Linked DNA regions of Homo sapiens: all the other regions are linked to region 6. Evidence: promoter capture Hi-C in 16 types of primary human blood cells and fetal thymus (Javierre and others, 2016). All regions are on one chromosome and are shown on one strand. Each heading gives the region's core, a stretch centred on a gene start or on the middle of the fragment in contact. The rest is flanking DNA. Distances are from core to core; before and after follow the strand shown. Region 1 has its middle 150 kb from the start of HEMK2. Region 2 has its middle 2.1 kb from the start of HEMK2. Region 3 has its middle 97 kb from the start of LINC01695. Region 4 has its middle 110 kb from the start of LINC00161. Region 5 overlaps LINC01695 (long intergenic non-protein coding RNA 1695). Region 6 holds the start of ADAMTS5 (ADAM metallopeptidase with thrombospondin type 1 motif 5). Region 7 has its middle 110 kb from the start of LINC01695.

The links. The method cuts DNA at HindIII sites, captures the fragments that hold promoters and counts their contacts. A CHiCAGO score of 5 or more calls a contact.
Region 1: a fragment that was not itself captured here is called in contact with the fragment with the promoter of ADAMTS5 in region 6 in 1 of 17 cell types (fetal thymus); the score reaches 5.9 in fetal thymus.
Region 2: a fragment that was not itself captured here is called in contact with the fragment with the promoter of ADAMTS5 in region 6 in 1 of 17 cell types (M2 macrophages); the score reaches 5.6 in M2 macrophages.
Region 3: a fragment that was not itself captured here is called in contact with the fragment with the promoter of ADAMTS5 in region 6 in 3 of 17 cell types (M2 macrophages, M0 macrophages and M1 macrophages); the score reaches 7.9 in M2 macrophages.
Region 4: a contact is called between a fragment that was not itself captured here and the fragment with the promoter of ADAMTS5 in region 6, in 1 of 17 cell types (erythroblasts). The highest score is 5.2, in erythroblasts.
Region 5: a fragment that was not itself captured here is called in contact with the fragment with the promoter of ADAMTS5 in region 6 in 1 of 17 cell types (M1 macrophages); the score reaches 5.9 in M1 macrophages.
Region 7: a contact is called between a fragment that was not itself captured here and the fragment with the promoter of ADAMTS5 in region 6, in 2 of 17 cell types (M1 macrophages and M0 macrophages). The highest score is 8.6, in M1 macrophages.

Annotation. Positions count from the first base shown.
Region 1 is chr21:28,737,865-28,741,283 of GRCh38, forward strand. It overlaps a transcript of HEMK2 not described here. Among named protein-coding and RNA genes, the nearest start is that of HEMK2, 150 kb to the right of the region's middle. The HindIII fragment of the contact is 2,967 bases long and covers 1-2,763 here.
Region 2 is chr21:28,885,647-28,889,365 of GRCh38, forward strand. It overlaps the pseudogene HSPD1P7. Among named protein-coding and RNA genes, the nearest start is that of HEMK2, 2.1 kb to the left of the region's middle. RefSeq lists an enhancer at 1-138. The HindIII fragment of the contact is 2,444 bases long and covers 97-2,540 here.
Region 3 is chr21:28,324,263-28,327,778 of GRCh38, forward strand. No RefSeq gene overlaps it. Among named protein-coding and RNA genes, the nearest start is that of LINC01695, 97 kb to the left of the region's middle. RefSeq lists an enhancer at 1,270-1,884. The HindIII fragment of the contact is 3,152 bases long and covers 1-2,884 here.
Region 4 is chr21:28,423,357-28,426,940 of GRCh38, forward strand. No RefSeq gene overlaps it. Among named protein-coding and RNA genes, the nearest start is that of LINC00161, 110 kb to the right of the region's middle. The HindIII fragment of the contact is 3,983 bases long and covers 1-3,584 here.
Region 5 is chr21:28,217,107-28,220,772 of GRCh38, forward strand. All of the region lies in intron 2 of LINC01695 (long intergenic non-protein coding RNA 1695), which reads right to left. Among named protein-coding and RNA genes, the nearest start is that of LINC01695, 9.7 kb to the right of the region's middle. The HindIII fragment of the contact is 6,620 bases long and covers 1-3,666 here.
Region 6 is chr21:26,965,440-26,968,803 of GRCh38, forward strand. ADAMTS5 (ADAM metallopeptidase with thrombospondin type 1 motif 5) reads right to left here and starts at 1,649. Exons shown (of 8, transcript NM_007038.5): 1 at 1-1,649. The coding sequence starts at 952. It overlaps LOC124905050, which reads right to left. Exons shown (of 3, transcript XM_047441063.1): 2 at 2,005-2,531; 3 at 1,217-1,645. The coding sequence ends at 1,217. The HindIII fragment of the contact is 6,499 bases long and covers 1-3,364 here.
Region 7 is chr21:28,340,654-28,344,307 of GRCh38, forward strand. No RefSeq gene overlaps it. Among named protein-coding and RNA genes, the nearest start is that of LINC01695, 110 kb to the left of the region's middle. The HindIII fragment of the contact is 158 bases long and covers 2,143-2,300 here.

The sequences.
Region 1 (3,419 bases), core at 30-2,529, 1.8 Mb after region 6:
AGTAATATACACAAAGAATGCAAGGATGAGAGGATGACCTACGAAGTAAAGAATCATGTTCAGGGAGAAACACAGGAAGGGGCAGGTTGGGAGCAAACACTGAAAAGCCAATTGCACTGTGTTTTCATTTGTTTGGAGAGGGCATTATGGGAGGGCTGGAGGATTGTTTCTTAGCTTCTTCCAACAACAGTTAGATAATTGCTGCAAGTGGAGAGCTCAGAATAGCAACAATTTGCCGACACATGAGGGCCCCTCTTTACATGTTCATCTTTTTGGTCACCTTCCACTTATGTATGTGTTATTGAAGTAGCAATGGACACTTTGAACTTTCTTTCTCAGAAAGCTATTAGCTTAGCTGGTGTTCTGTATTATTTCCACATTTAAGCAATAAAGCAGTGTTTCTTTGTAAAAATCTGACTTTTTTCAGTTAAGTTTGTTGCCAGATCTCCCAAAAAGACAGCTGAAGTCTATTACATATGTTGATCGCTATTATTGGGAGAAGGTGTTGGCAACCTTTTGAGTGGGCTGTGATGTTGCCAATGTGTTTTTCCAACAAGGTAAGGATGAGACAAGATAAAGGGCAAGGAAGGGGGAAAGGGTGCTGATGTGGACACAGAGAACGTCTCCCTCTTGCTGTCCTCCCTCTGCTTTCCATCAAGGTCAAGTGTCTCTTGTAAACACCGGCAGGGACAGTTCAATCTGCCCATCTCTGACACTTGGGTCTCCCTTTCTGTGACCCGGGAAACAGTCCCACGGAGAAGCCAGGACCCTGGGCCTTCTCCCTGGGGGCTCTTTATGCAGGTCACTGCCCCACTCCCTGAACTCCGAAACAACAGAGCTTACGTCCTAGGAAAACCTCCCAGAGATGGCTCTAGTCCCCAACATTTTTGCAATTGCAACATTTCTTATCCTATAATAATACAAAAACTTCCACATTTAAATGCATTCATTCAACAGAGGCCAACTTCAGCACATGCACTTCTGGGGCACTTGTGTTTACAATGGGGACAAAACAAGACAGTTGGTGTCCGTGGGCAGCTTAATCCTAGTCATTTTAATGCATTTTGCTTTCAATTAGCTTTCTCTGAATAATTCTATGACCACATTGAAATTGTGAGTGACATCCTGAAATATACCTACACTGGATCGTAAACCACAGTGAAAAAAATATATAAATATCGCCCTTTCCAGAAGCTCATGTGTACTTAAAATGAAACCAAAAAAACCTAAATTAGGTATTCACAGATACCCTTTTGAGAAATTCGCGAGAGCAGCAAAAGTACATTGACATGCGTATTTCTGACCCCATTTGATGACCTGAAACATTTCCTCCCTCTTCATTTTCTATTGCTGAACCACAGTATTTTCCTGTTTGGCACAGATCAAGAACACAGGTCTTTCTCTTTTTTCGTTTTTCCCACTGAGGCTATGAAATTGGCCATTCAGTTATTATAGTAAGGATTAGTAAGGACATTTCAAACACAACTAATTAAAGAAGTGTTTTCTGAAATTAAGATATTTTTGTTTAATTACATTAGAAGGAACTAAATATAATATGGTATAGATAAAAATAGACAGAATTACTCAGAACTGAGGGAAAAAATAAGTAGTGAGAAAATGTTAATAAGATCTGAATGCCATCTTCGTGGCATTTTTCCCTAAACTTCATCAGTTGGGAGAAAACTAAATCTTCAATATTAAAAACAAGTCTTATGAGCAAAAATTACTGTCCGGTCACCCTCCAGAGCAGGGTGCTGTCTAAACAGAACTTTCTGTGATGATGGAAATGTTCTCTATCTGTACTGTCCCTATAGCCATTAGCCCTAGGTGCCTATTCAAATTTAAATTAACTAAAATTCAATAAAATTAACAATTCTGTTTTTCAGCGACAGTAGCCACATTTTAAGTGCTCAAAAGCAACACATGGCCAGTGTCTACCATATTGGACAGCACAGTTCTAGAAGCCAGGAAAGAAGGTTAAATACACAGTGAAAATACACACCCAAGGTTTTCCAAACATAAGTAGAAATGGGAAATTTTTCCCGAAAGACCTCTATGGAGCATGAGAAGAAAGGTCTACTTTGTATCATCTGGAGGATTTTTTCCTCTTTCCATCAAGTTTCAGCCAATAATTAAAACAAGTTAGCAATATTTTTCATCCCAACACCTTGTGTAAATTCTTGTCTTCCCCCAAAGAGTTCCCTTGATATGCGTTTTACACACCGTCTATAGAAAAAGCACTTTCCAAACACCCAGTGTATGTTTTTCATGTAAATTCACTTTTCTGATCCTTTTAGTATATTTATAATGGAAATTCTCTCTACTTAAAGCCTATCTATATCTTAGCAACCACAGTTTCCAAAGCTATTCCATGAAGCAGGTTTCTCTATTTACTTTTGTCTATTTGTGTAGCCCAGACCACGCAATAAGATTTTCAAACTGGCCAAAACACATGAACATAGACAAAGTCCTTTATTGTGTGGGTAACCCTTTGGAATGTCTTATTCCCTATGAGAGCTGACATAAAGCAGGAATTCAAATGACAGTGGGTCAAAACCTGAGGGCCAACTGCAGATTTCAGCCTACTTTACAGTCCGTTGGCTATCATAGCTTCCATATGGGCAATAGTGATTGTTTATGAATTAATCCATGCAAAATATATCAAATCTAGTTGGAGAGGATTTTTGTGGGAGAGAAAAGGTACCCTTCCTTCACCAGCCTCGGCTTCATGCTAAAGTATTTCACAACTACAGTGTTTTCATAAGCTTAGAATTCAAATGAGGCCAAAAACTATCAAAAGCAACCTGCTATCTTTACCTGACCCAGAAGTTTACAAGATTGAATTCCTAGAAATTATTGGCTTTATTCTTCTGGAGTCTGCTCAAGTCTAGATAGGCAAGAAAGAACCTAACAGATCAATGCCTCTTAAGGGAATTGATCCCTTCTGCCCAACTTCCTGGGCAGAGTGGCCTTGAGTGAACCATATTCAGAATTAGCTCCTGTGGAACCTGACTATGGATAAGTATGTTAATAAATACATTACATTTTTGAAAATTATGTAATGCATTTTTTTGGACACAGGGCACTGTTCATAACTGTATATATGCTTTACCTCTAATACAATTACTACTATAATTTACTTCCTAAGTTGGTTTCTGTTTGGTTAATATACACATGTGTTAGCTCCAAGATAACTGAAGAGCATTTTCATGCTCACCAAGCCAGCTCCAAACCAAGCACAATCCCAAATCTGAACTCTTATTCCTAAAGTCAAATCAAATCAGATGGGTCCCATGGGAAGAAATGAGATATGTCCAGGCCAACATCATGATTAGACCCATCTCCAATGTCACACTCACAAGTCAGTTTCCTAACCCACTCAACCCAACATTTTACCTCCAAAAAAGATGACACAAGAT
Region 2 (3,719 bases), core at 69-2,568, 1.9 Mb after region 6:
TCTAATGATATTTGGAAATTCTGTTTTATTCCTAGTTTGCAAGGATTTGAAAAAATACATAATAAATTTTACTGTTTTTTTGTCAGCTGAACTTTAAGCTTTACGCTATAAAGATGAAGACTTTCCTCGTTTTTTTACTGTACTTTATAAATTGCCTTCCTGATGAATCATGAATGCACTCTTTTTATAAACCTTAAGCAAGATGATGCGGTTTAATACACTGCTGAATTGGGGAGGCTAATAATCTGGCTCCGTTTTTTTTTACCAAGATTACGCTACCCTCGTTATGTGAGTTAGGACACTGTTTCTGGAACATTAGGTAGAAAGCCTTAAAACTGGCTGGGCTTGGTGCCTTTTTGAGTGAATGGATCTTTGATGTTTTGGAACATCTGTAAGTTATTAGACTATTCAAGTATTTGCATTCTTTTTGAGTCAATTTCTGAAATTTGTTTCGCAATGAAACATTTTTACAGCTCGTTTTTTAAATTTGAGAAATAAAAATACAGAAAAGTATTTGAGGTACAAATTTTATTTTATTTTATTTCTACTTATGTATTTTTTTTTTTTGGAGACAGAGTCTCGCTGTATCCCCCAGGCTGGAGTGCAGTGGCGCGAGCTAGGCTCACTGCAACCTCTGCCTCCCAGGTTCAAGCGGTTCTCCTGCCTCAGCCTCCGGAGTAGCTGGGATTACAGGCGCCTGCAGCCACGGCTGCCTAATTTTTGTATTTTTAGTAGAGACGGATTTTCCCCATGTTGGCCAGGCTGGTCTCAAACTGCTGACTTCAGGTGATCCACCCGCCTTGGGCTCTCAAAGTGCTGAGATTACAGGTGTGAGCCTTTAACGCACCCGGCTGGGTTACAAATTTCAAAACCCCAAGTTTTAAACCCAGAAATGACAGTATTTTCTCATGTTTCCTTAAAATATTTTTTAAATACAAGAACTAAAATATTACAAATAAGATGGATGTTCTTTCTCTATTTGCCTTCAGTTTAATTGTGTAACATTCTCTCCAAGGCTCTTATGGATTTAGTGTATGTCCATCTAATCCATGTAAAAACATGGATCTTGTATTTATACGTTTATAAACATTCATATCTTTATAAGCAACATACGGTGTATTTTAAAATTTACATAACTGGTACTAGGTTGGACATATTTTTCAAATTTCTTTTTCAGTCAACATTATATGAGATTTATGTTTTGATATATGGTTAGGTTACTCCTCTTAACTGCCATATAGAATTTTATTATGTAAAAATATGAAAAATATATATATATAGAAAGAGTTGTACTTGATCTCCTGGGTTCAAGCGATCCTCCTCCCTCAGCCTCCTGAGTAGCTGGAACTGGAACCATAGGTGCTCTCGCACCCAGTATTAGGAATATACAAATGTCTTTTTATCCAAAAATACAAAATAAATTATCTGTAGGCATGGACAGTGACAGCAGTAAAACATTATATATTTTGTCACTTGAAACCAGTAACTGATTGTTATAGTGATTTCCTAAACATCTGCTAGCCTTTTCTTCAGTCGTTTTCTCCAGCTGACTTCTCTGAAGTTATTGGTGAGGAATACTGCCTTGGGCTTCCTGCCACAGTTCATTAATTAAAGTAAAACGCTATTCTAATCATTAGAACTTGCCATTTCCCATAACACCTCCCGTTCCACCCATTGCACCCAATACAGGGTCCTTCTCTTTTTTTAGGAATTTCTTTGACTACAACTTCTGCTGTAGTTAACAGGCCACCCCAGCAGCATCCAGTAAAGCACTTCTCACAACCTTTGTTTTGTCAATAATTCCTTTTTTCCACCATATTCACAAAATCTGACCGTGGCATCACAACCAGCTTCTCAGGAACTGCATAATTTTCTGGACTATCAAAGATCCTTCAACACCCGCATTTTTAGCAATAGTCATTGCAGGAATTTTGAGTGTTTTCTTAATAGTTTCTGTACCAATTTTTTGATCTTCATTAGCTGGAGTCAATGAGTCCAAGGCACCAATTCATCGAAGTAGGGTACAACCCCCTCCCAGAACAATGCCTTCTTCAACAGCAGCTCTTGTAGCATTAAGGGCATCTGTAACTCTGTTTTTCTTTTCATTCACTTCAACGTGACTTGTCCCACTAACCTTCAGCACAGCTACTCCATCTGAAAGTTTTGCCAGCTGTTCATTCAGTTTTTCCTTTTCATATTCACTAGTTGTGACATCCAACTGCTCAATGATTTCTTGAATACGTTTTTAAATTTGAGCCTTGTCACCTTTTCCTTTTAAGAGCATAGCATCATCTTTGATCACAGTGACCTCTCCAACTTCTCCTAAGTCATGAGGCTGAACATCTTCAAGATTTGAGGTCAACTCCTCTTCTCCAAACACTGCACCACCAGTAGCAATTGTCATACCTTTAAGGTGGTTCTTTCTATTGTCACCAAACCCTGGAGCTTTGACTGCTACAACCTGAAGACCAAGTTTTCGCCTATTCAAAATGAGTGTACTTAGAGTTTCTCCATCAACATTTTCAGCAATTATGACCAAAAGCTTACGGTGAGCATTGGCAATTTCAAGATCAGGTACAATGGACTGGACACTAGAAATTTTCTTGGAATTCACATTTCCGACCTTTTGATGTATTAATAAAGTATGGAGAAATATATCCTCAAACTTTCATGCCTTCAATAATTTCTTTTTTTTTTTTCTTTTTTTTTAGATGGAGTCTCACTCTGTCACCCAGGCTGGAGTGCAGTGGCACAATCTCGGCTCACTGCAACCTCCACCTCCTGGGTTCAAGCAATTCTCCTGCCTCAGCCTCCTGAGTAGCTGGGACTACAGGTGCATGCCACCACACCCGGCTAATTTTTTGTATTTTTAGTAGAGACGGGGTTTCACCGTGTTAGCCAGGATGGTCTCAATCTCCTGACCTCGTGATCCGCCCACCTCCGCCTCCCAAAGTGCTGGGATTATAGGCGTGAGCCACCACACCTGGCCTCATGCCTTCAATAATTTCTAATTCATCGGTAGCGTTTTTCCATCTTTACTGTGGTGAAACCCTTTCTTCTGACCTTTTTCATTGCATCGGAAATTAGGTTGCCAATTTCTTTGTCTCCATTTGCAGAAATTGTAGCAACCTGAGCAATTTCTTCAGGGGTGGTCACAGGTTTAGACTGCTTTTTAAGTTCAGCAATTACAGCATCAACAGCTAACATCACACTTCTCTTGATTTCCACTGGATTAGCACCTTTGCTAAACTTCTTGAAGACTTCCTTGGCAACAGTAGCAGTGGTAGTGCCATCCCCAGCCTCTTCATTTGTGTTATTGGCAACATCTTGAACAAGTTTAGCCGCAATATTTTTATATTTATCCTTTAAGTCAATGGACCTTGCAACAGTCACACCATCTTTTGTTACTTTGGGACTTCCCCAGTTCTGCTCAGTAATCACTGTTTTTCCCTTTGGCCCCATTGTAATGGCTACAGCAGTGAGTAAAAGGTCTACACCTTGAAGCATTAAGACTCAGGCATCTGAACCAAAAATTGTACATCTTTGGCATAAACCCGAGTGAGATGAGGAGCCAGGACCCTCGACACTGGTGTCATCTGACTTAAGACTGTGGGTAATTGAATCATTTCTGCGGGGCAGTGGCAGGGCTTGCGCACGCTGACCGCAGGCTGTCGGTGATGAGTGAGGGGGCTTGTTCTAATTCTTAAAGGAAAGGCTTT
Region 3 (3,516 bases), core at 59-2,558, 1.4 Mb after region 6:
TTTGAAGTGAATTCTCACTGAATTATGTCCCCTCAAAATTTATATATAAAATTGGTGATTGAGGTCCTAATCACCAATGTGACCGTATTTGAAGACAGGACCTATTAGGAGGTAATTAAGGTTAAATAAAGTTACAAAGTTAGGGCACTTTTACAATAGGATTAGCGTGCTTTTAAGAAGATAGACTAGAAAGCTGTCTCTCTGTCTCTCCCGCCCTCTCTGTCTCTGTCTCTCTCTCTTTCTGCACACACACACACACACACACACACACACAAAGAGATCATGTGAACACACAACAATATGGCAGCTGCCTACAAGAAGGAAAGAGAAACCTCACCAGAAACCAACCATGCTGGTGTCTTTGTCCGAGACCCCTAGCCTCCAAAACTGTGAGAAAATATGTCTGTTGTTTAAGCCATCCAGACTATGGTATATTAATAGCCTATGCTAACTAACATGGATAATTTCCTTTAGTCATTCTTTTAGAATATATCTGCCGGTGATAAATTCTCTTAGCTTTCCTTCTTCAGAGAATGTCATCATTTAGCTTTGATTCTTAATAGAAATGTAAATGGTATTTAGAATTTTGAGCTGACAGTTTTCTTTCAGCACTTAAAAAAATGCTGACGCACTGATTTCTGATTGAAAAGTTAATATCATTCAAATTGTTTTACTCCTATAGCCAAAATGTCATTTCTCCCCAGTTGCTTCTATCATTTGTATTTGCCTTTAGTTTTTACAAGTTTGAGTATGATATATCTTCATGCAGACTTTTCTGGGTTTATATTGTATGGGTTTTTTCTCAGCTTCTTGAATCTGTAGGTTTATGTATTTTGCCAGATTTGGGAAGTTTTTGGTCATTTTTTTGTGTATTTTTTTTACCCCTCCCTTCTTTGTTCTTTCCTTCTGGAACTCTAATCCTGTTTACTTATCCATCCTTCTATCCTCATTATTCTGCTGTTGAACTAATCCACTGAGTTTTCTATTTTGGTTAGTGTATTTTTTAGCTTTAAAATTTTCATCTCGCTCTTATTTTATCTTCTATTTCTTTACTAAGACTTTTCTCTTTTAATTTATTTCCAGTTTATTTGTAATTACTTTCAGAAGCATTTTTATAATGATTTGTCACATAATTCCAGTATCTACATTGTATTGGTGTTGACATCTCTTGATTTCTTTCTTCATTCAGTTAGAAGTATTCCTGGCCATTTTGTGACATGTGATATTCTGTTAAAACCTGAACCCTTTGGAACTATGAGACTGGATCCTATGTAAACCTACTCAGTTGGTTTCCTCTACAGGGACAGAAGGCAAGTGAGGATAGAATTTCAAGTTCCCTACTTATCCTCTATTAATAGTCAAAGAGGAGAAAAGCTCCTTGTTACTGTTGGGCAAGTGAGGGATTTTCATGCCCCCACTAGACATTTGCTGATATCATATGGGCGTGCTTTTGTTATTGCTCCCCATGTGGCCTCCACTGACACCATAGGGAGGGGAAAATGGGCAATGATGAAAGTACAGACTCTCCTCTAGGCCTTTTCTACCACCACCAGAAAGAGCATTCTTCTTTATTACCAGGTGGGAGTGAAAAGCAAAGCTCCTCAGGTGGTATTCACTGACACAATAGGAGCCACAAGTGTGACTCATTATCCTTAGCAGAGAACAAAGTTACACCTTCCTACTCAGTCTTCTCTGACATCACCCTAGAGAGAGTTTGAGACACCTCTTTATAGCTTAAAAAGAATGAAAATCTATGCTCCTCATTTAGCTTTTGCCAGCTAAGGTGGAAGTGGACTACAGATTTTTTTCTGTGATATTTGGTCAGGGTGGAAGAGTTATTATATAGAAGTTTTCTTTCTTGCTAGTATGTGTCTTTCCTGAAACTTTGACTAGAGCCAGTAGGCTTTTGTTAAGGATTTTTGTTTTTGCATCCTTTGGCATTTCTGGGATTTTCCAGCTTCTGTAGCTCCACGTCGGAAATACGTGAGGCAAAGAGAAAACATAGAAAACCTACCACCATGTCATTCTTTGGTCCTCAAGTTCCTTAGCTAGTTTTCCTACTTCTTTACACTTTTCAGGTCTTCCTAGGTTTGTTTTACATATAATTTTCAAGGTTTTCAGTTGGATTTAGCAGGAATATATCTACTCCATCTTTCTGGAAGCAAAATACCATTAAGAGATACTGATTTTAGAAATGGAAATGACTCATGTGAGAGAACACAAAATGGAATAATTTTACTGAGACAAGAAGGATCAAACCACAGAGAAGATGAAGACTAAATCAGCATGAGCTAAGGTGGTTACAGAGGATAAAGTTACCTGACTGTTATAATCAAGATTCTGGAGCCCAGGGAGGGCAAAACCATGTGATTAGTAGCCCTTCCCAAATTCCATTATCAGTGGGAACAGTCAAATTCCTGGTGGCCACTTCCTTAGTACTGGCTTTTTACCCACAAGATTTAATACTAAGTTGATTGATTCAACTGTGTTTTCTTTGCCTGTTTCATGAGCTGCTCACTTTAATTCTGGATGTTCGACTAGTAAAAAAGATCCATTTCTGTAATTTTGAAAATATGGAAATATGTGAAGTCAAAGTCAATCTCAAACCTTCTTTGTAGAGATGGTAAGTAAAATTAAAGGATTGAAAACCCATTACTGTGCTACAAATCTACTTAAAATTTCTTAATCATTGCTGTTTCTGAGCTCCTCTGAATAATCTCTTAATGTGTGGTACCCTGGCTCATGGCAAGGACATGACTTAAATTACATGCAAAAATATCTTAAAAGTATTTATTCAGGTAATAGATACTCCCTTTGTGATGAGAAACAGATTTAATACAATGATGACTTGTTCCCAAACAATAATCTGAGTATCAGAAATTGAAGCTTAAGTTATTCCTAAGTTTTATTCCTAAAACGGATTTTTTTTGTTTTTCAGAAGAAACTAGAACATATTAATAAACAATTTCACACCCAAAGGAATGTGAAACTTCATTTTCCTGACAAAGAATGTCCACTAATTAAAAATGACTGTGTTGGCAATTTAAAAGTATCTCTTTGCATATTGAACACTTGCTTTGGGTAAGAACTTGGCAAACTAAAAGCATATGGCCATTCTCTTTTTCATGGTTGTACCCAATAAATGTCATCAGAATTTCAAAATGATGAAGAAGGTCTTTAAGTAGAGAAAATGAAATGCCACTTTTGGTTTTCTAAATGACAGAGATTTGAGGGAGGGGCTCTGAGGCACATACGCAGAGACCATTAAGTGATATAGGGACCAGAAATACAGAGCCAAATTCTATACAATAAAGACCAAATATCAAAAATAGTTTACAATACTAAAACAGGTTATGTCTAATGCCAAGAAATGCTTTCAGTAATACTAGTAATTTTTTATGCCTCTAATCATAATTCATAAGACTGAATTAAAGTAGACAACCCTACATTTAATTTGTCCTTTGAGCAATATTATGTGGTTTCAAAACCATAGCTATAAGAAGAAGAAATTCATTT
Region 4 (3,584 bases), core at 579-3,078, 1.5 Mb after region 6:
CTAAACCGCAGCTGCAAGCATATCTGGGAAACATAATTAATAATTTTTCAAACTCTTCAACTAGAGGAAAGTTGTGAGTGTACAAATAATTTTTCAACCTCTTCAACAAGAGGAAGTTGTGAGTGTATAAACACCTATATAAACAACAGAGGCACAAAGTAATATTCATTGCTTTATTTACACATTCAAGTTGAATATAGATAGAAGATGACAAAGTCTGATGACCAGAGACCCCAGTTTCAACACTGTTAAAAGGAAATTGAGGTCACATCAATCCTAAGTACCATGCATTCAGATTATGGTTTCAAGTTCAAATAACAGCTAATGACTCAATTCATATATATCCAGAAAGACAGCCCAAAATCACCCCAGAATAATACTCCCACGTCTCCACTACTTGACCTCTCTACCATTCAACTCAACTTTGATGTCTAATTTTTGCCTTGAAACTGCATAAATTCAGTCTTCAAAAGTTTATTGTTCTGTAGGACAACCAGAAATTTACACTCAGTTAAGAAACATAAGACGCAGTTGTCTTTTAGCGTGTCCATTCTTCTGAATGTATATCACTCATAATAATAATAACCAATACCTCAAAGCAAATAAAGTATTTTATGATGTGGCTTAGTGGTTTTATTTATGCCTCCTCAGGAAGCCAAGAGACCACAACACAAATCTGAAAAACAATTAGCCTGTTTCTGATTAAACATGTATTGCTTAAAGCTGTAGCAAGTGAACAAGTGAAAAAGTTTACTGCTAATTCATACAAGCAGTATTTTTTGCTGGGCCCTTTAAATAATGAAAGCTATGCAAATAGTGGCAAAGGATAAAAGAAATTAAACACAATTTAATTTCTTCATTTTGAAATGCAATCAGTAACTGTTTTCATTCATACTCCTTTGGATTTTCTTATCTATCCTGTGCACCAAGGAAATAAAATGTATCTAGAAAGGTCAATTGATAAATGCTTATTAGCTTAAAGCATGTTTAACCTAAAATCTTAATCCTAAAATTATTTGTTTAGTGGAAATTCAAAAGGGCAAGTCATATTATCAAAAATCATGTGGCTAATCATTAGTGTTTTATCTTTAAAACTACTTTTAAACTAACAAGCATTTCTCACAGTTTGCAAGTTGATTCAGTAATGTACCTTTGGCCTTCATGACCCACTCACTTATGACCCTCCAAATCTCCTACCTTCTAAGTCTGCAGTCAGAGAACACATATACAGAAGGAGCCTTAGGTGTTATGCTCACAGTGTAACTCCTTATATATTCAATTTAAAATACAAAAGTGCCTCATAAACAAATCTAATTTATAAAGTCTTGATAAAATGCATAGATGTTGGTGAAGATACTTATTCATTTAAGACACATGATGTAAATAGTCAAGTTCTCATGGTATGCACACAGACAAAAGGTGGAAAAATTTAGCAAATACTCATTTTTTTAAACAGGGTCTTGATCTGTTATCCAGGCTGGAGTGCAGTGGTGCAATCATAGCTCACTGCAGCCTTGACCTTCTGGGCTCACGTGGTCCTCCCACCTGAACCTCCCAAGTAGCTGGGACTACAGACTTGTATCACCATACACAGCTAATTTTTTTTTTATTTTTTGTAGACATGAGGTCTCACTACGTTGCTCAGGCTGGTCTCAAACTTATGGGCTCACGTGAACCACCTCAGCCTCCCAAAGTGCTAGGATTACAGGCATGTGCCACTGTGCCCTGTCCCAAATATTTGGATCTTTAGTTCCCAAAATACCGAGTGTCTGCATATACAAACATATCTGTATATTGGTGTTTTTAGTTTTCATTTGGAAGTTTTCCATAAAAACCACGATCTTAGTTTTCTTAGCTATGTGCCCTGAGTTGTGAATAATAATTTTGATAATGTTACTATCCCTTTAGGAAAATATTTAGCACAGAAACTCTGATAAATGTGTCTTGTCTGTTGCAATTGAGTATGTTTGCAAAAAGAAGAGGATTTGGAAAAGATATTTCAGTAATTCAACATAGCCAAAAACTTAACATTGTATAAGTATTAACACACTACTAAGACAACTAATCTTATTTTATGTACCACAATATACTTAATGAGTAAATTTAACTAAACCTATCACAGTAAAGGGTAAATGACTACTCCATGCCTTTTACATTTGAAGCGGGCACCAGTAATGCTCACTTCAGTGCAGGGTCTCTGCGGTGTCTGCACTCATTCCTCAAGGAGTAGCAGGCCACAAACTGGTTATTGAGTTTGGAAGGGGAAACTGAACAAATGTTTCCCACCCTCTTCCTAGTTCCTTCATCTAAAAAGCGTAAGGCTTGCAAGTAGCATGAATTTTCATATGCGCCATTTTGCTCCATGTTGTAAAGGATCTTGTCTCTATTGAGGAAACTTGTGGTTTTCCAGGACTGCTGTAATTGGCAATCATACTCTCCAAAAGCAGATTTACTAGGTTAAAAAAAATGTGGTAATTTGCTCCACTTCTTTTTTATCTTTTGTCTTCTCACTTGGTTCAGAACTTAGGCAGTTTAATAGAGTTCTCTTTATTGGACCCACTTGAGCCTCATATAAGATTTAATTTTTAAATTGTCTGAAAAAGAGTCTGAGGTTCCCAAGAAGCCTCTAGTTCATTAAACCACTTGACTTTCCAAATCTATGTGCATTAGCCAGAATCTATGTGCAAAGATCTACCTATATAAAAGCCCTTCTATAATTACAATTTCTACATGGGCTTTTTTTTTTAACAAAGAAATAGAAATGGGAAACTCAACCAATTTATATTTTTTCTTATACAGCTCATCATAGAAATAGATAGATATATATAAATAACTATATACATAGTTATATAAATAACTTTTCTTTAAAACATTTTTAAAAGCAGAACACATATTTAATATATATTAAAAGGTCACATGCCTAATATAGTTTTCTGTTGCTCTCTAATGAAAGATGCATGAGAGACTTATTTACAAGGTTTCTTAATTTCAGCATTGGTTGCTTACTCTGCCCCAAATTCACAAGTAATTGATGAAGGCCTATTTTGTTAATTATGTGAAGATCTGTTTTAATTGTGCCTTCTATTGGCATTTTCATACAAAACAAATTGAAATTGCAATTTAGGAATTTTCCAGTAAATTTGATCAATGTAGGCCACCAAGCTTATTAATTCAGGCAAAGAAACAGATGCTGGCTATCAGAATTGATCAAATGAGTGATGGTCAACAAATTCCTACTGTTTTGTGTACTATGGACACATAGTCTAGGAATTTATCCTAACTTCTCTTCTTCTCCATGAAATATATGAGAAATTGCCTGTCTCCAAAGCCAAAACTAAAAGCTACTTAAATTGACTGCAGATGCTTATGTATCTCAAGATTAATGCACTGTGGATACAGAACTCTCAACCCAGACTTCACAACCAAATCAACTGGAGCTCATATGGCACACACCTGTGGAATTCAACCAACTAAATTCTCAGAGATTTGGATACAAGTAGATATATTTTTATTACCAGAAAGGAAGGGTAAAAGCAGAAGCATTTTGTAAGACCTTTCTTAACAAGCAAGTATGTATTGCAAGG
Region 5 (3,666 bases), core at 900-3,399, 1.3 Mb after region 6:
TGTGTGGAAAGAGGGTCAGACACCTGAAAAGAGGCCATAAAATATGAATAAACTTCAAACAAATGACTCACCTCTACAGCAGGTTGAGCCAACTTTCCTCATCAAGGAGACCTCAAAGTTGCTTCAGAGCATCCATGCAAGTTGCCTTGTAAGGTCTTGTTGATGTGCTCCCCCTTCCGCCATCAGATCCTCTTGGCCCTGCCTGATCCCTGGGGCCTCCATGGCTTGTTCTGTTTTCCATCTGCAGGGAACCCAGTAATGACAAGTGCTTGTCTTATAGTTATAAATGCCTTGGCTCCACTTCTATCAATTTATCTACTAAACACCACCAGCTGTGTCCCTCTTGACCTGAGATGAGAACTGTCTTTAAGCCAGGCCTTGATTGTGCCTCTCTTGTGGAGCTGGACATTCTGGTCCAGGAGATGCTTTATGCACTGAACCAATGGCCAATATATGATGGTGTGTACCCATATGCTAGACTACTTGACTCCAATATCCAAAGGGCAGATGTAGGATTGGCCCCACTCATCTTTTCCATTGACCTGTGTATTAGTCAGTGTTCTCTAGAGGGACAGAACTAATAGAATAAATAAACATATATAATATAACATTATATATATATGGGACTTTATTAAATATTAACTTACATGTTCACAAGGTCCCACAATAGACTGTCTGTAAGCTGAAGAGCAAGGAGAGCCAGTCTGAGTCCCAAAACTGAAGAACTTGGAGTCGAGTGTTCAAGGTCAGGAAGCATCCAGCACAGGAGAAAGATGTGGGATGGGAGGCTAGGCCAGTCTCTCCTTTTCACATTGTTCTGCCTGCTTTATATTTGCTGTCAGCTGATTAAATTGCCCACCAGATTAAGGGTGGATCTGCCTTCCCCAGCCCACTGACTCAAATGTTATTCTCTTTTGGCAACACCCTCACAGACACACCCAACATCAATAATTTGTATCCTTCAATCCAATCAAGTTTACATTCAGTATTAACCATCGCAACTTCACCTCTTCTCAACTTGAACCCATACACATCTCCTGAGATCATAATCTCCAAATAAAGATAATAATAAGGTCGTAATTCTGCCTGATATAATACAACTATCCTTCATACAACTGGAAATGCACCAATCCCCAACCCAAATACTAATACAAAAAGTTAACAATATTTAAATGCTGATATGAAGTCAATAAACCTTATGTCACATGATAAAATAAAATAAAATAAAAATATTTTCTTAGTACAAGTGTATACATAGACAAACATGTTTTTAACAAAAGAAGAATGAAATTCTCATGAAAATTATAGTCCTTGTTTCCACAGCTGGTAACATGGTTGGAGCTCGTATTGATGACTACCTTCTTCTACTATCCATTCTGTATTCCCTTTGCCGTCAGAAAGCACTTCAGCAGGTCATGGTTTTTTTCCTGGAGGAGTGACCCAAACCTTCACTCCTGAGGGGTCTGGGCCATTTGTAGTCCTGCCTGGAATGGACTGTTGTAGTTTCCCACTGACTTTAATCACAGGGCATGGTAATACTAAGAGACACCCTAATGGATCTCTTGCATTCTATGCAAACTCTTCCTGACTTCCATTATGCAGTAGTAGACTGATTTATCTTAATAGTCCGGGTCAATCAACCCAGCCAACGCTGTAACTCCCTTCTTAGCCTGTTGACTCAAAGGTAGCAAGAGCCCAAAGTGTCCAGGTGGCAATCTTAACTTCCAAATTAATGGAATTGTTGTTGTGTCTCCTGGTGGCAGCGTTCCTCCCTCCGGAACTAAGACCTCTAGGCCAGCAGAACGTAATGTCACAGGAACAGGAAGCAAAAATTTTGCTAGTGAATCACTAGGGGTGATGGTGAGTGGTGCCGCTTCCACGTCCCCCCCCGATTGCTGGACCCATGAAACCTGGATATATAGGAGAAACACCACCATATATTGGACACTGATTCAGAGCAAACTCAGTCTTCAGGAGAACTTTGCCCAGCCCTGCAAAGTATTGTCACTAGTTGGAATTGTAATTGTGATTTCAAAAGGCCATTCCACCATTCTCTCAATGCTGCTTCAGGATGATGGGGAACAAGGTAAGACCAGTGAATTCCATGAGCATGGGCCCACTGCCATACTTCTTTAGCCATAAAGTGAGTGTCTTAGTCAGAGGCAATGCTGTGTGGAATACCATGATGGTGGATAAGGCATTCCATGAGTCCACAGATGGTAGCCTTGGCAGAAGCATTGCATACAGGATAGGCAAAGCCATATCCAGAGTAAGTGTCTATTCTAGTGAGGACAAACCTCTGCCCTTTCCATGATGGAAGAGGTCCAACATAATCAACCTGTCACCAAGTAGCTGGCTGATCACCCCAAGGAATGGTGTCATATCGAGGGCTCAGTGTTGGTCTCTGCTGCTGGCAAATTGGGCACTCAGCAGTGACCACAGCCAGGTCAGCCTTGGTGAGTGGAAGTCCATGTTGCTGAGCCCATGCATAACAACCATCCTTGCCACCATGGCCACTTTGTTTATGGGCCCATTGGGCAATGACAGGGGTGGCTGGGGAAAGAGGCTGGGTGGTGTCCACAGAACAGGTCATCCTATCCAATTGATTATTAAAATCCTCCTCTACTGAGGTCACCCGTTGGTGAGCACTCACATGGGATACAAATATCTTCATGGTTTTTGACCACTCAGAGAGGTCCATCCTCATTCCTCTTCCCCAAATTTCTTTGTCACCAATTTTCCAATCATGCTTCTTCCAAGTCCCTGACTATCCAGCCAAACCATTGGCTACAACCAATTAATCAGTATATAATCACACATCTGGTCATTTCTCCTTCCATGCAAAGTGCACACCCAGGTGCACTGCTCGAAGTTCTGCCCACCGGGAAAATTTTCCTTCACTGTTGTCCTTTAGGGATGTCCTAGAAAGGGGCTGTAGTGCTGCAGCTGTCCACTTTCAGGTGGTGCCTGCATGTCATGCAGAACCATCTGTGAACCTGGCCATAGTCTTCTCTTCCTCTGTCAAATGATCATAGGGAACTCCTTCTGAGGCCATTGTTGCAGGCTGGGGAAGAGAAGGCAGGGTGGCAGGAGTGGAGACCATGCAAGGGGAGCCAGTACAAGTTCCAAAACTGAAGAGCTTGGAGTCCAATGTTCAAGGGCAAGAAGCATCGAGTACAGGAGAAAGCCGTAGGCTGGGAGGCTAGGCCAGTCTCCCCTTTTCACGTTTTTCTGCCTGCTTTACCATTGGCAGCTGATTAGATTGTGCCCACTAGATTAAGGGTGGATCTGCCTTCCCCAGCCCACTGACTCAAATGCTAATCTCTTTTGGCAACACCTTCACAGACACACTCAGGATCAATACTTTGTATCTTTCAATACAATCAAGTTGACCCTCAGTATTAACCATCACAACCTGTTTGCAAGTTCTGTATTTTTCCATTTCTGCAAATTTAGGCTCTGCTTGACCACAGGCCCCAATTCCCAGTGTTTAAGCAGAGAAATGCTAGGTGACACAGAGAGGTCTATTGAGTTACCTGTTCATAACAACTGTACCTTCTCTCGTGAGATTATTATGAGGATTGAGTGCAATAATACCTGTAAAGGCCAAAGAAAAGGACTTAACCCAGAGCAACTATTCAGTGGGTGCTAGCTGCTATTCTTAGA
Region 6 (3,364 bases), core at 399-2,898:
CCTTCACCACGGCCAGGCGGATGTGGTTCTCGATGCTAGCATGGCTGTACAGCCTATTGGCGATGGAGGCCAGGGTCAGCAGGTAATGCTGCAGGCCCCGGCCATACAACCGCGCCATGGACGCGTCAGCCACCAGAAGCAGCTCCACCTGGCGGGCCCGGGAGATGGAGCGGCGCCGCCGCCGCCACCACGTCTGCGGTCCTGAGCCCCCAGCGGGCGAGAGAGCGGACTGGTCCAAGAGCTGCGAGGCCAGTGCTGCGCGTCCGCTCGGGTTGCTGTGCGCCGGAGCATGCTCGTGGGCCTCCGGTGTGGACGCGGGGGTTTCGCAGCTGGCGCGCGGCGGCAGGGCCTCGAAGCTGAAGCCCTCGCGGGTGTAGACGTGCAGGATCCGTGCGGACCCATCCCCGTACACGCGCCCCTTTTCTTCCTCCGCCCAGGGTCCGCGCAGCAGTGGCTTTAGGGTGTAGCGCGCGTGCTTGACCGCGAAGAAGCCGTCGAGACCCCCACAGAGGTCAAAGACAGCCAGAGAGCGGGGACTACCGTCCACTGTGCCCCGATAGAAGCAGTGGCTCCGGTGGCGCCAGGGCGCACTCGTCCCGCCTCCTGCGGGCACGAAGCCAGCAATGCCCACCGAACCATCTCGCTCCAGGTCCAAGAGGAACCTCCGGCCGCCCGCGTAGACGAGGTAGCCCACCTTGCCGCCGCCGGAGTAGAGTTGGTCGATGTTCTGCACCAGCCCCTTGCTCCTGCGCCGCTGCGCCAGGGGGTGCGGGTGGCCGGGAGGCTCGGCTCGCTCCTGCACCTCCTCCCCCTGCCGCCGGCGGGGCTGGGCGGCTGCTGCAGCAGTCGGAGGCTGCCCGGCTTTATCCTGGGCAGGTGTCGCGGCGGGGCCGACCGCGGCCAGGGGCAGGCGGAACGCGCACAGCAGCAGGGACGCCCACCCGAGCAGCATAGTGCGCTGCCCGCGGGGAGGGGCTGCGCGACTGGGACTTTATGGGTATTTGTTATTTGCTATGAAGTTAACGGGGCGGGGGATGGGGACACACACACACTTGCTTGCAGGATTGAGTCAAGTGTCGGAGGGAGGGGGGCCCGGCAGCAGCGCCAGCCTGTCCGGGCTGCGGTGCCAGCGTGCGAACTTTTCTTTGTTGCTTGGGAAAATGTTTGGATTCGTGCTCCAGAAAGAGGTGGGGTGGGGGGGGGGGGAAAGAAAAGATTAAAAAAAAAAAGTCGGATAGTGGAGATTCAGCAAATACGGGAAAAGGAAAAAAACAAAAACCAAAAAACCACCAAATGCAGGCACGATCGCTGTTTCAAGAAAAGTAAGGAAAGGTACCGCGCACCGGGCTGGCAACTGGTGCGCGCAGCCTCCCGCCCCCGCGCTGCGCTGGACAAGCCGGCTGTGGAGGTTCCAAGCTCCGGGGCCCACTTCCTTTCTTATTTTGTGGGTTTCCTTGGCTCTGCTGGGACCAGGAGGAAGGGAAGAAAGAGAGGGGAAAAAGCCGTAAAAATTAAAACAAAAATGCAGGGGGGCAGCCTGAGGCGAGCTGGTGAAGCGGCGTGTCTGTGTCCCTTCGGCTGCGGTCTCCTCCTGCCCGCCGTCATCCCCAGTCGGCAGCTGCGAGCGCCGAGAGCAGCGCGAGCGCTGTGAAGATGCGAGGAGGTGGAACAATGAATTTATAGCGGCATGCCATCCTGCAATGGCAATTTCAACAGTTCGTCACTGCACGCTGCCTCTTAAAGGGAGAGCTTCCCCCACCACTCCCACCCTTCCCAGTCCGCGCCTAATCAGATGGGGGAGGGCAAAAGAGGAGGGTGATCGAGGAAAGGGAGACGAAGTAGGAGGAAGGGACTGGGACCCGGCGAGGTGGTAGGAGGGGAGAGGGGAAAATAAAAAGTAATGGGGCAAGAAAAACAGATTTCCTTGGCCACTTTTAAAGCCACAGCGGCTCCGGGTCTGTCTGATATTTCACAACCAATTGGGGTTGGCTAACCTTGGCTTACCTCATCTCCTGAACGGGTGTTTTGGTTAAAGTTATTGAGACGTTTCAAGTCTCTCCCTGCCTCCTTCTTGCCTGCTTTTCTCGCCCTCGGTGGGAAGTTCCTGCCGCAAGTTTTTCCCCTTTGCACACCCGTGCGCTCTGGCCTCGCAGACCGTGCAACTCCATCCACCAGCCAGAGCTTTTCAGCTTCCCGTGCGTCCCCTAACCACCGCGTTCCCTTCGCTTCCTCCCCTCCGTCCCGGCACCCGGTTTCCTCCCTCCCCATTCTCCAGCCTCTTGATGCTTTGACGCTCGCCGGATTCGGGCTCCGGGTGACTAACTTCTCCCGGCCACCAGCAGAGCGGCTGGACAGCCAGAGAGCCCAGGGCGCTTCCTGGCGCGCTGCGGTACCCCGGGGCGAGAACGCCCGCCGCTTGGGAACTCCGCAGCTTTGTGTGCGAACGGCGGGCTCCCAGCTTTCTCCAGCACGCCTTTCGTCAGGGTCCACAATCTGTCCCTTACTCCCAGCCCACTGGAACTTCCTTTGCTCTAAAAAGGCAGAGCGAGAAAGAGTTAACTCTTAGAGGGAATTCCGCTCATTTTTTTTCCCTGAAAGATTTTAAAATTTTGCGCTCATACTTTTATTTTTTGCTTAAATGATACTTTAATAATAAATTCCTATATCTGTTTTTGTCTCTTCTAAAGCAACCACTTATCGCCATAGGCCTTGACCTACCTTCATTCTCAGAAATTCCTTTTAGAAGAAAAAGAATACTTTTGGCGGAAGGAAGATTGGTGCTTATTAGTACGCGGGTGACATTATCACTGCTACTCGTTTCCTCTGACCTCTTTGTTTCCTCTAATTATCATTCTAAGAAGGGAGAAGGAAAACCCGACGACTTATGGTTAGAAGGTCTACCTTCTACTGTAGGGGTAAGAGCTCCCTCCATGCCCAAATTATTCTTCAGGCTAATTAACTAATGCACCAGTGAAAAATGAATGTGGTGTAATTTGTACATTTCCATCTTTTTCTACGTTTAACTTTGGCTACGCTGGGGATAGCAGGGCGGGTGCCTTAATGGGGCCCCAAGCTGATCGCTTTCTCTGGGAGGGAACCATGAGGGTCCAGAGCTTGATGGAGGTTCTTAGAGTGGCAATAATCCTCTGGAAGGAATTTCAGAATTGCCCGGCAACAATACCCATTGCCGTGTGCCTGGGAACACCCTCTGGAGTCTTGTGAGGGGCAGATGTATCATCTTGTTTTAACTTATAAATAAAGAAATCACTGGGGCCTTAGGGACACCCAACAGCCCCTGATAGATTCTGAAATACATCAGGACCAGGGAGGAAGTTACTATTGCTGAAGGCCATTGCTTTATAAT
Region 7 (3,654 bases), core at 972-3,471, 1.4 Mb after region 6:
CAAAAGCTTCGACAAAGTTGAAATTTTCTTATTGTCATTTGTCAGAATATATCTTGCAAAACAGATTTATTAGTATTTACCATCCATACGTTTAATTCTGTGTGAGAGTATGTATGTACTTTGGCAGTGCGGTGGAGTATTTGCATGCTTTAGGAATTTTTGAAAGGAAGCCCCAGGAAGCAGGATAGTTGATTTCCTTGACATAATCAGCTAAATGCCCATCATCAGCCACTTGTCTATAGATAAAGTAAGGAACCTAAGTGTGTTTTGAAGAGCATTAGAAGGGGGGAGGTACCTATCTATATTTCAATCCATATTTTTCACTGTCATATAATCCAACCCCACAAACATATTCAATTGGTTTAATATCCATGGAGATATTTTCATAGTTCTACAACCATCCTTTGTCTTGTTCACATTTGAATTAAGCGTTTTCCTGAGTAAATTTCAAGGATAGAGTTTGAGAAATTTCAGGAACTCCTTTAGAACTGCCAAATAGAAAGTTTCTCATGTAGACAAATCATTTTTTACAATAATACAATACAGTAATAAGAAAGAAAAATCACATAAATTACTAAAATCTATAATATCTATAATAGTAGAAAACTTGATGGTTACGAAGCAACTTTTTTTTTTTTTTTTTTTGAGACGGAGTCTCACTCTATCACCCAGACTGGAGTGTAGTGGCGCAATCTCAACTCACTGCAAACTCCGCCTCCCAGGTTCATGCCATTCTCCTGCCTCAGCCTCCTGAGTAGCTGGGACTGCAGGCGCCTGCCACCACTCTCAGCTAATTTTTTGTATTTTTTTGTAGAGATGGGGTTTTACCATGTTAGCCAGGATGGTTTTGACCTCCTGACCTCGTGATCCACCCGCCTTGGCCTCCCAAAGTGCTGGGATTACAGTCATGAGTCACCGCGCACGGCCAGCGTTTTTGAAATTAATTCAAATTTCTGAAAATCTGACCAAATGAATATTTTTCTTTCTTATATATTATACGTGTTATATACTATATATATTTAAAATGCCAGTTTGAATAATTGGCTTCTTTGCATTAGATAGACATTTAAAATAAAAAAAAGAAATTGATTAAGATAAGTAAATAAACCAGTCTTTCCGATAACGCTACAAATTTATTCTAAGTTTTACTCAGAATAACAAATACTATTTTAAATTTGCCATACCCTTAAGCATATATAATCAATAAGTTTCTTTAAATAATTGTTATTTGTAAGAATATATCTTGCAAAACAGATTTTCAAAGTTGAAATTTCTAAGGCATGCAACTAGAAAATGTTTGAGGAAAACATAAGAAAATTATGCCTTGTTTCTCAAACATTTTCTAGTTGTTGGTTTTAGTGGGAAGTTTCATATCACATATAAAGAACTTCCTTAAAAAATAAAAAATATGCCATAACTTTGGAATCATATAATATACCCCACTTACTAACTTGAGACACATGTTTTAAAATTATATTTAGAGAAAAGAGACTTTCAATGACAATTTGATTGTGAACACAGAATTATAATCGAAACTTGGTAGCACTATGTGGCTTTTTTTCCAGACACAATAGGTAGGGTTTTGATTTGATCACATCTCCAGGAATTCAGTGTGGCTCACACTGAAATTGTTGTGGTTCACACAAGATTGTTGAGCACAATCTTGGATTACACTCATTGAAACCTAGAAGGGGAAATGACCAACAAGAGATTTAACAGAAAGCATACTTTGCCATATGGCTTCTAACTGTTTGCTCTTTGAAGCTCAGTGAGAGAGATCTGAGATACCACAGCAATGTTTTTCCTTTGTCATGAAAGATTTGTCTAGGAAGACAGCAGAAGCCATGAATTTGACATGCTAGTCAAAATACAAGAAGTTTAAGGCAACAGATGAAAAAGCAGAGGGCCTGCAGCTGTTTCAAATGAGTTCCCATGGTGCTGAGCTTCTTTCGAAGAGGGCCCTATCTCAGAATAAAGCCACAAGAGTTCTTCCTACCACTAAACAGCCCTGTAGGTTAAAACCCATGACAGCCATTCTATTGACTTAAATTTTGATAGATCCTTATTTATGCATCGAAGTTTAGTCAGTAATCTTTTGCATAAATGGGATATAATTAGTGATGTATGAAAATTCACTAAATAAGCTTTCCTTCTTTGGCTTATGATCCTCAGAATTAATCAATAATCTTTTGCATTTTTTGTTCTAACTCTGGGAATTTTCATGCTATTCTGAACCTTGGATGTTTAAAATGCATAATAAAATACATGAAGTCCAACCTCTCCTCAATTAAAATCTAATAAGCTTTGAAAACTCTATTTTGAGGTATCACTAGAGATCATATTTTACAAAAGATTGTATTATTCTGTTCTCACCCTGCTATGAAGAAATACCCAAGGCTGGTAATTTATAAAGAAAAGAGGTTTAATTGACTCACATTTCTGCATGGCTGGCAGCGGGGTGGGGGTCCTCAGGAAACTTACAATCATGGCGGAAGGCACCTCTTTACAGGGTTGCAGGAGATAGAATGAGTGCCAGGAGGGGAAATGCTGGATGCTCCTATGATGTGGTTTGACTGTGTCCCCACCAAAATCTCATGTTGAATTTTAGCTCCCATAACCTCCATGTGTCATGGGAGGTACCCAGTGGGAGGTAATTGAATTGTGGGGCCTGGCCTTTCCTGTCCTGTTCTCGAAATAGTGAATAAGTCTCACAAGATCTGATGGTTTTATAAAGAGGAGATTCCCTGCACGTGCTTTCTTGCCTGCCACCATGTAAGACGTACCATTGCTTCTCCTTTGCCTTCCGCTATGATTGTGAGGCCTCCCCAGCCATGCTGAACTGTGAGTCTGTTAAGCCTCTTTCCTTCATAAATTACCCAGTCTCAGGTATGTCTTTATTAGCAGTGTGAGAACAGACTAATACACTTATAAAGCCATCAGATCTCGTGAGAACTCACTATCACAAGAACAACTGGGAGAAACCTCCCCTATGATTCAATTACCTCCACTGGGTTCTTCTCACATGGGGGTGTTATGAGGATTACAATTCAAGTTGAGATTTCGGTGGGGACATAGCCAAACGATATCACCCATAGATCACCTTTTTTTTATTCATGAGTTAATTATTTTGAGAAAAGAATCTTAGTATATTCCTAAAATTTAGAGAAAGACTTTATGTCTAAAAGAATGTCCATTAGAAAATTGTCACTGGGGCCAGGTGTGGTGGGTTATGTCTGTAATCCCAGCACTTTGGGAGCCCAAGGTGGGCGGATCACTTGAGGTCAGGAGTTGGAGACCAGCCCAACCAACATGGTGAAACCCCGTCTCCACTAAAAACACAAGTGTGTTGGCAGTGTGGTGTGTTATAGGTGTGGTGGCAGACACCTGTAATCCCAGCTACTCTGGAGGCTAAGGCAGGAGAATCGCTTGAACCTGGGGCCATAGGTTGCAGTGAGCCGAGATCACGCTACTGTACTCCAGCCTGGGTGACGGAGTGAAACTCCATCTCAAAAAAAAAAAAAAGAAAAGAAAAGAAACTTGACACTGGTTGGTTTGTTTTGTTTTGTTTGGAGCATTGAAACAATTGTCTTCCAACTATTAATCCATCATAGCAAGGTTAAAATGTTAATGCAACTATTATATTTAAAAATTAGC